2 separate regions of the Homo sapiens genome follow, and region 2 is linked to region 1. The links are contacts of gene promoters, found by promoter capture Hi-C in blood cells and fetal thymus (Javierre and others, 2016). All regions are on one chromosome and are shown on one strand. The core of a region is centred on a gene start or on the middle of the fragment in contact, and the rest is flanking DNA. Distances in the headings are between cores, read along the strand shown. Region 1 holds the start of ARMC3 (armadillo repeat containing 3). Region 2 has its middle 17 kb from the start of PIP4K2A.

The links. Contacts are between HindIII fragments. The CHiCAGO score rates a contact against its expected background, and 5 or more counts as called.
Region 2: a fragment that was not itself captured here is called in contact with the fragment with the promoter of ARMC3 in region 1 in 1 of 17 cell types (megakaryocytes); the score reaches 5.0 in megakaryocytes.

What each region holds. Positions count from the first base shown.
Region 1 is chr10:22,925,441-22,932,448 of GRCh38, reverse strand. ARMC3 (armadillo repeat containing 3) reads right to left here and starts at 4,396. Exons shown (of 19, transcript NM_173081.5): 1 at 4,343-4,396; 2 at 405-453. The coding sequence starts at 452. The HindIII fragment of the contact is 5,434 bases long and covers 1,923-7,008 here.
Region 2 is chr10:22,727,745-22,734,752 of GRCh38, reverse strand. No RefSeq gene overlaps it. Among named protein-coding and RNA genes, the nearest start is that of PIP4K2A, 17 kb to the right of the region's middle. The HindIII fragment of the contact is 1,100 bases long and covers 3,622-4,721 here.

The DNA of each region.
Region 1 (7,008 bases), core at 3,147-5,646:
CACCAGACAACCTTATATACATATCTAATAGCTATAGCAGAACTTCCAGTTATTTTTGAAAATTCACTTGATTAATTAACATAAATGAGAGGCTGGCAAATGTAAATGGTAAGTATTTAAAAGAACAACCCAAACTATTTATTCATTAACTATGCTATAAACATGCCATCTACATACTGGAAAAGCTAATAATTACTCTCTAATTGTGCTAATTATATAATGACAATGTTGTAAATGTTTGTTTATGTAATGTTAGATTTCTCTGACTAATCTTATCATTAGTCAGACTTTGGACTTCTGCCACCGCGTATTCATGTATATACTGGTACATGCCAAACTGTGTGAACAATTTATTTTTATAACTGGTTGTTAAAGTGCTACTAGTATTCAAATCAGAAACTTACCACATCCTTAGGAGGAGGCTCTACTTCCTTCTTTATCTTTTTACCCATCCTGGAAAAAGATGCAATATATGGTTAAAGTGACATTTGCACATACATTTCTCAATTACCTGTGCCCTTGAGAGGAGGTTTATTTTCTCCTTTAAATTTTTACCTCCTAAAACACAATGCAATACATGTAAAAATTATCACATATGTACAAATATGTCACCTACATCCCAATTTCAAACTCTGCAATTTTAAGGAACTTATTGATAAGATCATTGAGTGTTAGTCCTGGCTTTCAGTTTAGAAAGGAGGTGAATATATTAGTGGCATAACTTAAATAACAAGAAATCATTTACCATTTTTATAGCTTGCTTATGATGGGCTTAAGAGACTAAGCCCACCAAGTTACTTTTGAGACCTGCAAGAATGTTTGTGCCACAAAGGCAGAGGTTTTTGTCTATTTTCTTGCACTGATCTATCCTAAATACCTACAACAGTGTCTGGTACATAATTGGCATTTGATATTTATAAACCTCATTAACTCCATTTTTCCTAGGAGTAATGATCTCATAAATGGTATACAAAATCTACCAGGTCTTGAATCAACATTTGTGTCCTTTGCCCGGATAACAAAAAGTTTTCTTTCATAATCCACAGCTTAGTAAAAAAGCAATTAAAAAATCTGAAGAGATATATTCTGGGGAAACTGAGGTTACTTCCTTTCCACTTGTCCTCATATGTCCATGTCTGTGTGGAAAAAGTGAAAGGAATGGAATTTATACATAGTTAACATACCACAGAGGAGTAACCAGCCTGGGTTCAAAGAACTTTTCAGGCCGGGCAGGTGGCTCACGCCTGTAATCCCAGCTCTTTGGGAGGCCGAGGTGGGCGAATCACGAGGTCAGGAGTTCAAGACCATCCTGGCCAACACAGTGAAATCCTGTCTCTACTAAAAATACAAAAATTAGCCGGGTGTGGTGGCACGTGCCTTGTAGTCCCAGCTACTCAGGAGGCTGAGGCACAAGAATCACTTGAACCCGGGAGGCGGAGGCTGCAGTGAGCCGAGATCGCACCACTGCATTCCAGCCTGGGCAACAGAGTGAGACTGTCTCAAAAAAAAAAAAGAAACTTTTCAAGATGTTAATGTCTATTAGAATAACCCAGGAAATCTATCTAGTTTTCTTCAGTGAGAGTTTGTGGAATTATGTTTGACATCAGGGCCATCTTAAACGGTATATCGTAGGAGCAATCTTAAACGGTATATCATAGCCTTAAGGAAATTACCATAGTCTCAGTAGAAATCCTAGGAAGTAGAAAATCCTTGGGGAGAATCTACAGTGTCAGGGTTAGCTCAAATTGCATGTCAAGGGTCAAAAGCAACTCCTAGCATTAGAGACACTGACCAGAATTTATCACATACATTAAAAAGCCACGTCTTCATAGAAACTCCTAGATACTTCTGAAAGGCATTTATTCTAGGTCTCTAACTTCAGACCACACTACTTTTAAGACTTTGGAGGGCCTGGGCAAGCTTATTCACACAATAGCCAATATATTAAAATGTTAAAATGTGCCTGCATCGCCCATTAAATGTCATTTGCATCATAAAAACTTTTGAAATTTGTATTTGAAATTACTCAGCAATCAGTACATACACCTGGAAATTCTTGTAAAATGAGAAAATTGTTTTCAAATGTAATAAAAATTTATATTAATAAAACATTTAATTAACACTAATTTTTCAGTTCTCTTTTCATATTTTAGAGCCAATATAAGCATTTTTTTCAAATCTCAAACATCTTCCTTAGGTGCTTGAAAAGTGAACAGGCCCTAGACCTTGTGCCTATAATATTTCAGGCAGAGAGGCAGAAACTATTCTGGGCAAATGAGAATCTATCCTACAATTAATCTCTAGGAAAAAAAAAAGAGAGAGTTTATAGCACTCTATAACCAATTCCAAGACAGAGCAGCCTTTGATTTATAAAATAATTGCTTATGAATAATATTCAGGAAGCAATTTAATTACACCTGCATAAAGTTGTTTTAAATCATCTGATTTTCACTTAGGAACTAATTTTTCCTACTTCAGGATAGTGTTTTTGAGCAATTGCATAGTGCAGAGGTTAGAAGAGCTTACACAGACAGTATTGCAATGATAGAGTGTCTCCTAAGCTAAAGAATGAAGTTAAAAGCCTATGTGTTTTATCATGGCCCGGCGTGGTGGCTCACTCCTGTAATCCCAGCACTTTGGGAGGCTGAGGCGGGTGGATCACCTGAGGTCAGGAGCTCAAGACCAGCCTGGACAACATGGCAAAACTCTGTCTCTACTAAAAATACAAAAATTAGCCTGGAGTGGCGGTGGCATGTGCCTGCATTCCCAGCTACTGGGGAGGCTGAGGCAGGAGAATTGCTTGAGGCCGGGAGGCGGAGGTTGCAATAAGCTGAGATCACCCCATTGCACTCCAGCCTGGGTGACAGAGCGAGACTCTGTCTCCTCCCCCAAAAAAAGCCTATGTGTTTTATCACCATATTGGGTATGATAGTTAATGGAGGAGAGACTGAACAGCTGACATAGGTCGGTGGCAATGAGCTATGGAGATGATCCTTACAAGGGTAATACATTTCACTGTGGAGAATTTGGAAAACAAGGGCACAACGAATAAAATAAAAATCACCCAAAGATAAGCTCAGAGAGATCAATACTATTTCTTTTCTTTTCCTTTCCTTTCCTTTCCTTTCCTTTCTTTTTCTTTTTCTTTCTCTTTCTCTCTCTCTTTCTCTCTCTCTCTCTCCCTCTCTCTCTCTCTTCTCTTTTTTTCTTTTTCTTTTTCTTTTTTGAGACAGAGTCTCACTCTGTTGCCCAGGCTGGAGAGTGGCCTGATCTTGGCTCATTGCAACCTCCACCTCCCAGGTTTAAGAGATTCTCCTGCCTCAGCCTCCTGAGTAGCTGGGATTACAGGTACCCGCCACCACGCTCGGCTAATTTTTGTATTTTCAGTAGAGACAGGTTTCCCCACATTGACCAGGTTGGTCTCGAACTCCTGACTTCAGGCGATCCACCCGCCTCAGCCTCCCAAAGTGCTGGGGTTGTAGGCGTGAGCCACCGTACCTGGCTTTGTGTGTTTTTCTAAAGTGATTTTAACATCCTGCCTCAACTTCTATCCCCTACTTTCACCTTCCCTTCCTGGGTTCATATTCCTACTAAATTCTTATATTAACAAATAAATTCATGAAGTCTCAGTTTCCCTTCATTGCTTTAATAATCTCCAGTGGATTAGCATAACATGCCATTACAAATATTTTAAAATCCCTTAGCTATCTAGCCAGTCTCTGATTGTTGAAATTTGTTTCTAATTTTCTGGAAATATGGACAGGGCTGAAAGAACGTCCTTGGACATAAAATTTTCATCCATTATCCCCAACTATTTCTTTAGGATAAATCTCTAGCAGTAAATTAACTGGGTGAAAACTTCAGGGCATTGGATATGCAAACAACTCTGCTCTAAAAATGCATCTTCTTGACTACTGGAGCCATTTTTTTTTTCACGAGTTGATTGGTCCTTTGTATTTGTTCTTCGTGAACGTTCAGCCTATGATTTTAAATATTTTCTAATGAGTTCTGCTTTGAGAAGATTTAAAGAGGAGGAGGGCTCAAGAAATCGAGGCCACTTCTGAGTTGCTCACAGTCAAGTAACGGAATCTGACTTGATCTCACCTCAGATCCCCTCTCGGGCCTCAGTTTTGTCACCTGTTGAATGGGAGGTGGCGGGATGCTTACGAAACCCACCCCAAGCCCCGTCTAACCCTGCGGGCGCGAGGCAGAAACTAACAACGCCCAGCAAGGTGTTGCCTCACTGACCCAAGCAGTCTGCGCCCACGTGGCACCTTCTCCTTTCCCAGGTTTTCCTCAGGCCTCTGCCTTGGGCCTCCCCACCCCACGGGGTTACCTTTACCTGCCGGGAGATCCCGCCGAGTAGCTAGCTGCTCCGCAAACCCAGCAGACGAACCCCCAGTCCCTTGTTGTGCCTCGTTGCTAGGCGACGCCACGCCGCGCCGCGCCTGCGCCCTGGGAACGCTCGGGGCTGCTAGGGCGCCCATTGTCCCGCCGAGGGCAGCGGCCAGTGCGGGAGGAGCCAAGTGCGTCCGCGATTACCTGAATCCAGTGCTTTAGGGGAGAATGGAAACTGGGGGTGGAAGCTGTAAATCAAGAGGCAGTTCAGCCTCAGTTTCTGGCCCAAGGACTGGCTGTGGGTTCAAATACGCAAATACTATTGCATTCTTCCAAATAGAGGCGTCAGCCGGAATCTCTATGCAGATGAAACCCACATCAGCCACCTCCTGCCCAGGCTCCGTTAAGCTGCAGACCTGCACTGCCACATCTCTTTGCACTAGGATGTCCAATCCGTTTCCACAGAACTTCTCATGGCCCTTCAAAGCCCCGTTCTCTTCCTCTTTCTTTCCTCTTCCTGCCATTCTTCCAATTGCCTAGACTCAGAAGGAGCTTCAATTTCCCTTCTTCCTCCCATGCCCCCCAACCACAGTCATCACTTCAGCCACTTCTTGGCGGCTTACATTTTGTTTCCTGCTTGTTCCCTTTCTCATATCCTTATTGTCACTTCAATCCAGCTCGTCATTTTTTGGCCTTCTGGCTGAGAAATTCAGTTGCTCTCTGCTTACAGTTCTTTCTACGTATCACAGGCAAATCGGCCATCCAGAAATCATCGTTCCAGTCTTGTCACTTCCCTACTCAAATGTCAGCGGCTTCCTAAGATAAATTTTCAACACATTGGCCTGGAATTTAAGACCGTCTGCTCCATCTCTACTCCATCTGTGCAACCACATTTTCAACCGATCTCCACCATCCAAGCTCCAGCCAAACTTACTGTTCCCGAAATTTTCCACACTTTTCTCTAGATTTTCTTGCTTATCTGTTCATCACTTCATTTTTCAACAAATATTTATAAAGTAGCTTCTATTTCCCAGGTCATGTGCAATACCTGAAATATTCTCTCATTTCCACTTAATTAAGCCCAGCTCAAATGCCATCTTCATAAAATATTTTTTGATTGCCTTTAGCAAAAAGTCTCTCCCTCTCCTCTTAGACTTTGCAAATTCCGTCTCCTACCGGCCCCTGTTGGTCTCCCAGTCCTAAGAATGATAGATGCTTCTTATAATTGCTACTTTTATATATCTTATGTTCTCTTCTCACCATTTAAATTGCCTGATAAACAGCTTTATAACAATTATTTGTATTCAGTTTTCCATGGTCAAATATCCGGTGTGACTTCTGTATAGAAAAGATCTTAAGTAATGGTCATGAAAGTAGGAAAAGGATTAAGACCAAGTAGCATCAAGGAAACTAAGGAGGGAGTTTCAAGAATATAAGCGTCATCAAGTGTTATATGATTGGACCTTGAATAATATACACCTGTATTTTCAGCCTCTCCCTGTCTTCCACGTTTTTTCCTGTTGGTATATAATTATGTTGAAGCCCCTCCCATGCCTCATCTAAAAAGCAAAAACAAATAAAATCCCTTTGATGTTGTTGTTCCTTCTAACTATTATCCTATTGTTTTCTTTCTCTTCTTGGTCATGACTTTTCAAAAAAAGTAGCCAGCATTAGATACTTACATATTTTTAACTTCCTATTCACTCTTCAGACTATAGTGACCTGTTTTCATCCCAGCACTAAAACTATCCATATCCATTGGATGCTTCTTAGCCCTCATCTTGCTTGACATTGCTGCTGTATATAATACTCAATGACACCTCATTCTTGAAACTCTTTTCTTGGTTTCCTTGGTACTACTTGCTCTTGATCTTCCTCCTACTTTCTTTTATGACCATCATTTAAGATCTTTTCTATACAACAGGGTCTATCTATGTTGCCCAGGCTTGTCTTGAATTCCTGGCCTCAAGGAATCCTCCTGACTCAGCCTCCTGAGTAGCTGGGATTTTATAGGGATATATGCCCTATTGTGGTTTTTTTACAGAATCTTAAATGTTGAAATTTCCCAGGGATCTGTCCCTTGTTCTCTTTTCACACTATATGCTTTTCTAGGTGATCTTATTTATATTTGTGACTTCAACTATTGCACATATGTAGCTCCTCATCAGACTCCGGTACTGAACTCTAGACCCATATATCCTACTTGCTACACAGTTCCACCTGGATACCCACAGGCACTTCAGTCATCAACACTACCCACCTAAACTCATCATTTTCCCAGTATAGACATGTTTTTCCATTTATCTAGGGGTACCAACAGGTGTTCTACCCAAACAGACCACCAAGTCTGACAGGCATCCTAGACTTATTCTCCTTTTCATGCAGTTAATTATTGGATTCCCCTAAAAGTTTCTTGAATTTATTCTCACCTTCCAATTCCCATAGCCCAAGTACAGAAAGTCACTGTCCTTTACCTGAATTCATCTAACAAGCCTTCTGGCAGGTCTTCCATCCTCTAGACTCATCCTAGCTTCAATTCATCTTCTCCAAGACAATCAAAGTAATCATTCTAAGATGCAAATTTAATTTGTCTGTGTCCTTGCTGGCTCCAATAGCTCTAACACACAAATGATGAAATGCAACAAGATTCTTAAATTGACACTCAAGATC
Region 2 (7,008 bases), core at 2,922-5,421, 200 kb after region 1:
CCACTGCACTCCAGCCTAGGCGACAGAGTGAGACTCCGTCTCAATAAAAAAAAATTATTTTTGTAGAGACAGGGTCTTGTTATGTTGTCCAGGCTAGTCTTGCACTCCTGGTCTCAAGCAGTCCTTCTATCTCAGCCTCCCAAAGTGCTGTGATTATAGGTGGTATTGGTTTTTAAATTAATTCTGTTGAAGACTAAGTATCCTTCCTAAATTATATTCTAAATCATTATCTTTTTAAATGCTGCCCCCTGACTTCTGTTTCCAGCAATTTGGTAAACTTGGTGTGCCCATTCAAGTATAGAACCATTTTTAAAGGACAGATAAAAATAGGAAAAAAAAATATACTTCAAGAAATGTTTTGCGGCCTTCTGGAAAGTAAAGGAAAATAACTAGGGGCCGAAAAGAACTAGAAGTCATGATTTCATAAGCACTTGAGCCAGCATGTAACCTGAGGGCATCTGCAGATGCCTGATGGCCCAGTATCTGAGAGTCAAGTAGAGTAAAGGGTCAGAAGGAGGCTGCCCACAAAAGCCAGGATCTTCCACTGACAATGACATCAGAAGTGGGTGAATAGAAAAGATACCCACTGAAAAAGACTCTGGCTGTTTTGACCTCGGCTCTGGGTAAACAGAGAGGGGCAAAAAGTCTCTTAATCAGTTGTAGCCACAAGTATGCACTCATTCAGCTTGGGAGGCAAATCCACAATATTTCTGAGACACAAAAAGGCCCAAGATAAAAATCCTCCCTAGAGGAACATCCTTTAATCATAGGCCTCAAACAACTCCAACATATAAAGTTCCAAGGAACATATTCTCACAATCAAAAATCCCTACATGCATGAGGAAACAAGCCACAATGAATGAGAGTTATAAAGAAAGATAAAATGTAAATTCAGACACACGAAGAGTACAGAAATTAAATATAGTGCAGAGGAAAATCCTTAAGAGAAGATAACATTTGGGCAAAGACATGAAGAAGGTGAGAGAGTGAGCCATCCAAGTATCTCAGGAGAGGTGACCTTAGTGGAGAAATCAGAGTTCAAAGGGTCTGAGGCAGGAACATGACTGAATGTTCCAGAAACAGCATGCAGTTTGACCTACACTTCTAAAAATATCCTTCTGGATTCTATGTTGAGAATATAGAGGTGAAGGACAAGAGCAAAAGCAGGTAAGCCAGATAGATTATGAATTCGTGTGAGATATGTTGGGTGAATTAGACCAAGGATGTAAGGCATAAAACTGAGATGTAGACAGATTCTTGAAGGTAGGGTAGAGAGGATCTGATGATGGATTGAATGTGGTTGAGAAAGAGAGAGAGGAATCCAAATCACTTTTCACCTACGATGGGAAAGAAGAAAGATGAAGCATGATTGGGAGAAGGGCAGGAGTTTTTTTCTGAACAGGTTGTGCTCAGATCACCAAATTGGGAAGTTAAATAGACAGTTGGATATATGAATATGGACTTCAGAAGAGAGGACTTAACTGGAAGTTTCATTTAGGGGCTGACATAAAGATGAAGCTAATGAAAAAAAAAATCTCACATTCAAGAAGGGCAATGCATCTCTAGAAGAATTAAAAACAGGATCTGGGACATCAGGTTTTAGCTCCAGTACGTAAATGGATTGGAACTCATCACTCCCATATAAACAATAAGATAAAAAGCTGAAGAAATGGAAAATCAATGACTTTTTTTTTTTTAACTCTTCAGAGAATTGATGTTGCAGAGCAAATGGGCACCCTGAAATCCGGAGAGAAAGACAAATACAAAGAATCACAGCCAAGATCAGCTTGCTGAGTTTTTGAAACGGTAAATAAAATTGATAAATCTTTAGCTAGACTAACTAAAAAAGAAAAAGAGAGAAGACTCAAATAAAAAAATTATAAATGAAAGAGGAGACATTCCATCTAATATCACAAAAATACAAAGTATCATAAAGAAGAACCATAAACTGTTATACAGCAATAAATTGGATCACCTACAAAAAGTGGATAAATTCCTAGACACATACAACTTACCAATCATGAAGAAATAGAAAATCTGAACAGGCCGGGTGCGGTGGCTCATGCATGTAATGCCAGCACTTTCGGAGGCCGAGGCGGGCAGATCACAAGGTCAGGAGATTGAGACCATCCTAGCTAACACGATGAAACCCCGTCTCTACTAAAAATACAAAAAATTAGCCTGACGTGGTGGCGGGCACCTGTAGTCCCAGCTACTCGGGAGACTGAGGCAGGAGAATGGTGTGAACCCGGGAGGCGGAGCTTGCAGTGAGCCGAGATCATGCCACTGCATCTAGCCTGGGTGACAGAATGACACTCCATTTCAAAAAAAAAAAAAAAATCTGAACAGACCAGTAATGAGTAAGGAGATTGAATCAGTGATTGAAAACCTTCCAACAGTAAAAGCCCAGGACCCATTAGCTTCACTGGTGAATTCTACCAAGCATTTACAGGATTAATGCCAATCCTTCTCAAACTCTTCCAAAAAATTCAAGAGGAGGTAATTCTTCCAAACACATTCCATGAGGTCAGCATTACCCTGACATTACAGCCAGAAAAATACATGACAAAAACAAAAAACAAAAAAACAGAACAATATTCCTAAATGAACATAGATGCAAAAATCTTCAACAAAATACCAGCAAACCAAATTCAACAACACATTAAGAGGAGCATACACCATGATCAAGTGGGATTTATCCCTGAGATGAAAGGATGGTTCAAAATACATAAATCAAGAAATGTGATATACCGTATTAATAGAATGAAGAATAAAAATCATATTGTCATCTCAATAGATGCAGAAAAAGCATTTGACAAAATTCAACATAATTTCATGATAAAAAAGAAAAATCTTTCAACAAATTAGGTGTAGAAAGAAGGAACCTCAACACCATAAAGGCAATATGTATCAAGCCCATAGCTAACAACATATTCAATGATAAAAAGCTGAAAGCTTTTCTTCTAAGATCAGGAACAAGACCTGGGTACTTCTATTCAACGTAGTATTGGAAATCCTAGTCAGAGCAATTAGGCAAGAAAAAGGTATAAAAAGCATCCCTACTGGAAAGGAAGAAGTATAATTATCTCTGTTTGCAGATGACATGATCTTATATATAGAAACTGCTAAAGATTCCACAAAATTTTGTTGGAATAGGCAAATTCAGCAAAGTTGTAGGATAAAAAAATCAGCATACAAAAATCAATTGTGTTTTTGTACACTAACAAATAAGTAATAAAAAATAAAATAAATAAATAAAAAGACAGAGATTTGCAGAGTTAATTTAAAAAAATACCCAACTATATGCTGCCTTCGAGAAACACAGATAAGGCAGAAAGACATGGATAGGTTAAAAGTAAAGCAAAGGAGAAGGATATTCCATGCTAACATTAAGCAAAGAAATGTTGGAGCAGCTATATTAATTTCAGACAAAACAGATTGCAGAACAAGGAAACTTATTAGATAAATACCTTCACATGATCTGAATAGGCCTATATCTATTAAAGGAATTTAATCAATAATTAACAACCTGGCATTAAAAAAAGCAACAGACTCAGATGGTTTCACTGGTGAGTTCCACCCAGCATTTAAGGAAGAAATGATACTAATTCTCTACAAGCTTTCCCAGATAATAGAAGAGAGAATACTTCTTAACTCATTCTATGAGACTAGCTCTATCCTAATATCAAAATCACATAAACAACACAAGAAAGAAAATTTATAGCCTAACATCTCTCATTAATATGGTTGCAAAATTCTCAAAAAATATGTTAGAAAATTGAATTCAACAAAGCATAAAAAGAATCATACACCCTGACTAAGTGAGTTATTTCAGATATATGAGGATGGTTCAGCATTCAAAAATCAGCTAACCTAATCCACCACATCACCAGGCTAAAGAAAAAAACCGTACAATTGTATCAACTGATATAGCAAAAGCATTTGACAAAGTCCAACACCCTTTCATGTCAAAAACTCTCAACAATCAAGGAATAGAGGGGAACATCCTCAATCCCATAGAAAGCATTTACCAAAAAACCTACAGCTAACATTATACTTACAGCAAAGAGTTCGCCTCTTATTACTCCCATTCAACATCATACTGGAAGTTGTGGCTGGTGCAATTAAAATAATAATAATAAAAGGAAACAAAAGACATATGATTAGGAAGGAAGGAACAGAACAATCTTTGTTCACAGCTGGGATCTATTTAAATAGAAATTCCCAAGTACAGAACACAATTAATAGGTATAAAAGATATTAATTTACAGGGGAATACAATGTAGAAATTTATATCAATAAAATATGAAAAAGTGGTTACTTTTCTAGAAAAATATTTTATCAAAATTGACTCAAGAAGATGGAAAACTGAACCAATAAATAACCATCCCCAAACCCCTGAAATAAACGCTATACCTTTAATGAACAGATGACTAATGTGTTATTTAAATAATTCCACAAAGAGAAAAAACATATAATGTTTTCCAACTTATCTGTTACCGAAACTGTGCAAGAGTTATTGATAAGAATATCACTATAAACCAGTCTCACTGGTGAACATAGGTACAATAAAATGCTAGCAATGAAACCCAGCAGATTCATAATATATTCCCTCACTGAAAGAAAAGACATATTCTATTGACAAAAGTGGGAGGGAGAAGCAAAATACTTGAAACTTAACAATAAATGTGTATTACCTATGTGAAGAGAACTATAAAGCTTTACTGAAGGTCATAAAAGAAAACTTCAAAAAAATAGACAAATGTATGATGTTCATAGATAAGAAGTTTTAGTGTAGAAATATCTCAATTGAGTCTGTAAATCTAATGCAATCCCAATAAGACAAGTTCATTCTCATGTTCATAAGAACGGAAACATGCTTCTAAGTATATTTTAAAAATTTGAAAAAATTGTTTGGGAAATTTGACCAACCAGAGAGCAAAATATAAAAATACATTGATTTTTGCATGAGGTATTAAAAAAAGAATAGGCTGGGCGCAGTGGCTCAGGCCTGTAATCCCAGCACTCTGGGATGCCGAAGTGGGCAGATCACCTGAGGTCAGGAGTTTGAGACCAGTGTGGCAAACATAGTGAAACCCTATCTCTACTAAAAATACAAAAAAAAATTAGCTGGGTGTGGTGGCACACGCCTGTGATCCCAGCTACTCTGGAGGCTGAGGCAGGAGAATCGCATGAACCCAGGAGGCAGAGGTTGCAGTGAGCCGAGATCAACACTGCACTCCAGCCTGAGCGACAGAGCAAGACTCCATCTCAAAATCAGATCGCTGGAATTGGAGAGTCAAGAAATATTCCATCTAAATTAAAATTTAAATTATCTTAAGTATGATCTTTTACATCAGTCTCTAGAGACTAGTCTATTAAATATATGGTGCTGTGATATTACCTCATATCAGGAACAAAAATTAACTCCAGAGCAATTAAAGAGCTACACATAAAAAAGATAAAAGCATAGAAATATTCAAATAAAACAATATTTTTATAATCTTGGAAAAGGGAGATGGACAGTTTTGACCGTATTGTAACAGATCTTTAAAATAAATGACCCCTTAACAAAAAAGGCCAGCAGTAAACTGAGATACAACGCAGTATATTTTGCAACATATATAACATACAAAGGATTAATATCCAGAACAAAGCCCCACTACATATCAATAAGGAAACAGAAAGACTATAAACAGGCAATTCACAAATTAATAAATATAGTCAATGTAACGCATGCTGTGCTGTGCTCCAGTACTGAAGGATTTATTCTCCCAGCTGCTGAGGGTGTCCATCCTCTCTGGGAGTTGCCGTCAGTGGAAGGGACTCACCTTGCCCAAGGGCATGCGTCCTAGGGCTGCCCTCATTCAATAACTGGGGACTCAGGGCTATGCTGGCATCATCACCATGCTCTAAGTTGGACAACTGGAAAGCACCATTCTAGCTTCAAAGATCACCAGGAGGACAGCTGAGGCCTTAGTTGTGACCAAATAGAAGCCCAACTTCTTCCTCTGCCCAGTCCTGCTTCCTTCCCTCCCAATTTGGGTGTTAATCAAGAGAGCACTTCCTCATAACTTCCTGTACCCTAATTTCCATCTCTCCGCCTGCTTGCCGGGACCTGACCTGCAACAGTCAGTGGACATAAAAAGATACCTTGCCGGCCAGGGGTGGTGGCTCACGCCCATAATCCCAGCACTTTGGGAGGCTGAGGTGGGCAGATCACGAGGTCAGGAGTTCGAGACCAGCCTGGCCAACATAGTGAAATCCCATCTCTACTAAAAATACAAAAATTAGCCGGGTGTGGTGGCACAGTCCTCTTGTCCCATCTACTCGGGAGGCTGAGGCAGGAGAATCGCTTGAACCCGGGAGGCGGAGGTTGTGGTGAGCCGAGATCGTGCCACTGCACTCCAGCCTGGGCAATAGAGCCAGACTCCGTTTCAAAAAGAAAAAAAAAAAGTACTTTGCCCCAGTCCTAATAAAATCAAAGGTTCTATTTTGCTTATTAGATTGGCAACATTTTCAAAGGCTGATAATATCCAGGGTTAGTGAGGGTGTGAGTAAATGACCATTTTCATACATGGTTGGAAAGTAAATTGGTAAATCATTTTTGGAAAGCAATTTTCCATAGCCTCTCAGTTCTGCCTTTCAGTACCTATCTATAACAATTACTAATGCATCTGCATAAAAAGACATATAAAGCAGTTCACTGAAACTTCATTTTTAATAGAGAAAAACTGCAAACACTACACGTGCTGTTTTATAATCTGCTCAACATTTCCTGCTTTGGAGAACCACCTCTTTCCATCTTATTATGAGATGGTGGGACTGTTCATCCCAATAGCTCCTTCCTCCATCTGGGTGCAGTGGTGAGCACAGAACCCAACCCTGGCCAATCACAGCATCTCATTTCCCTGAACACAGGGAAATGGCCCTGGCCAGGAGTGGGCACCTGATCCCAATAGGGCCAATCTCAGAACTGCTGCAGAACTGACAGACGGATACCATTGC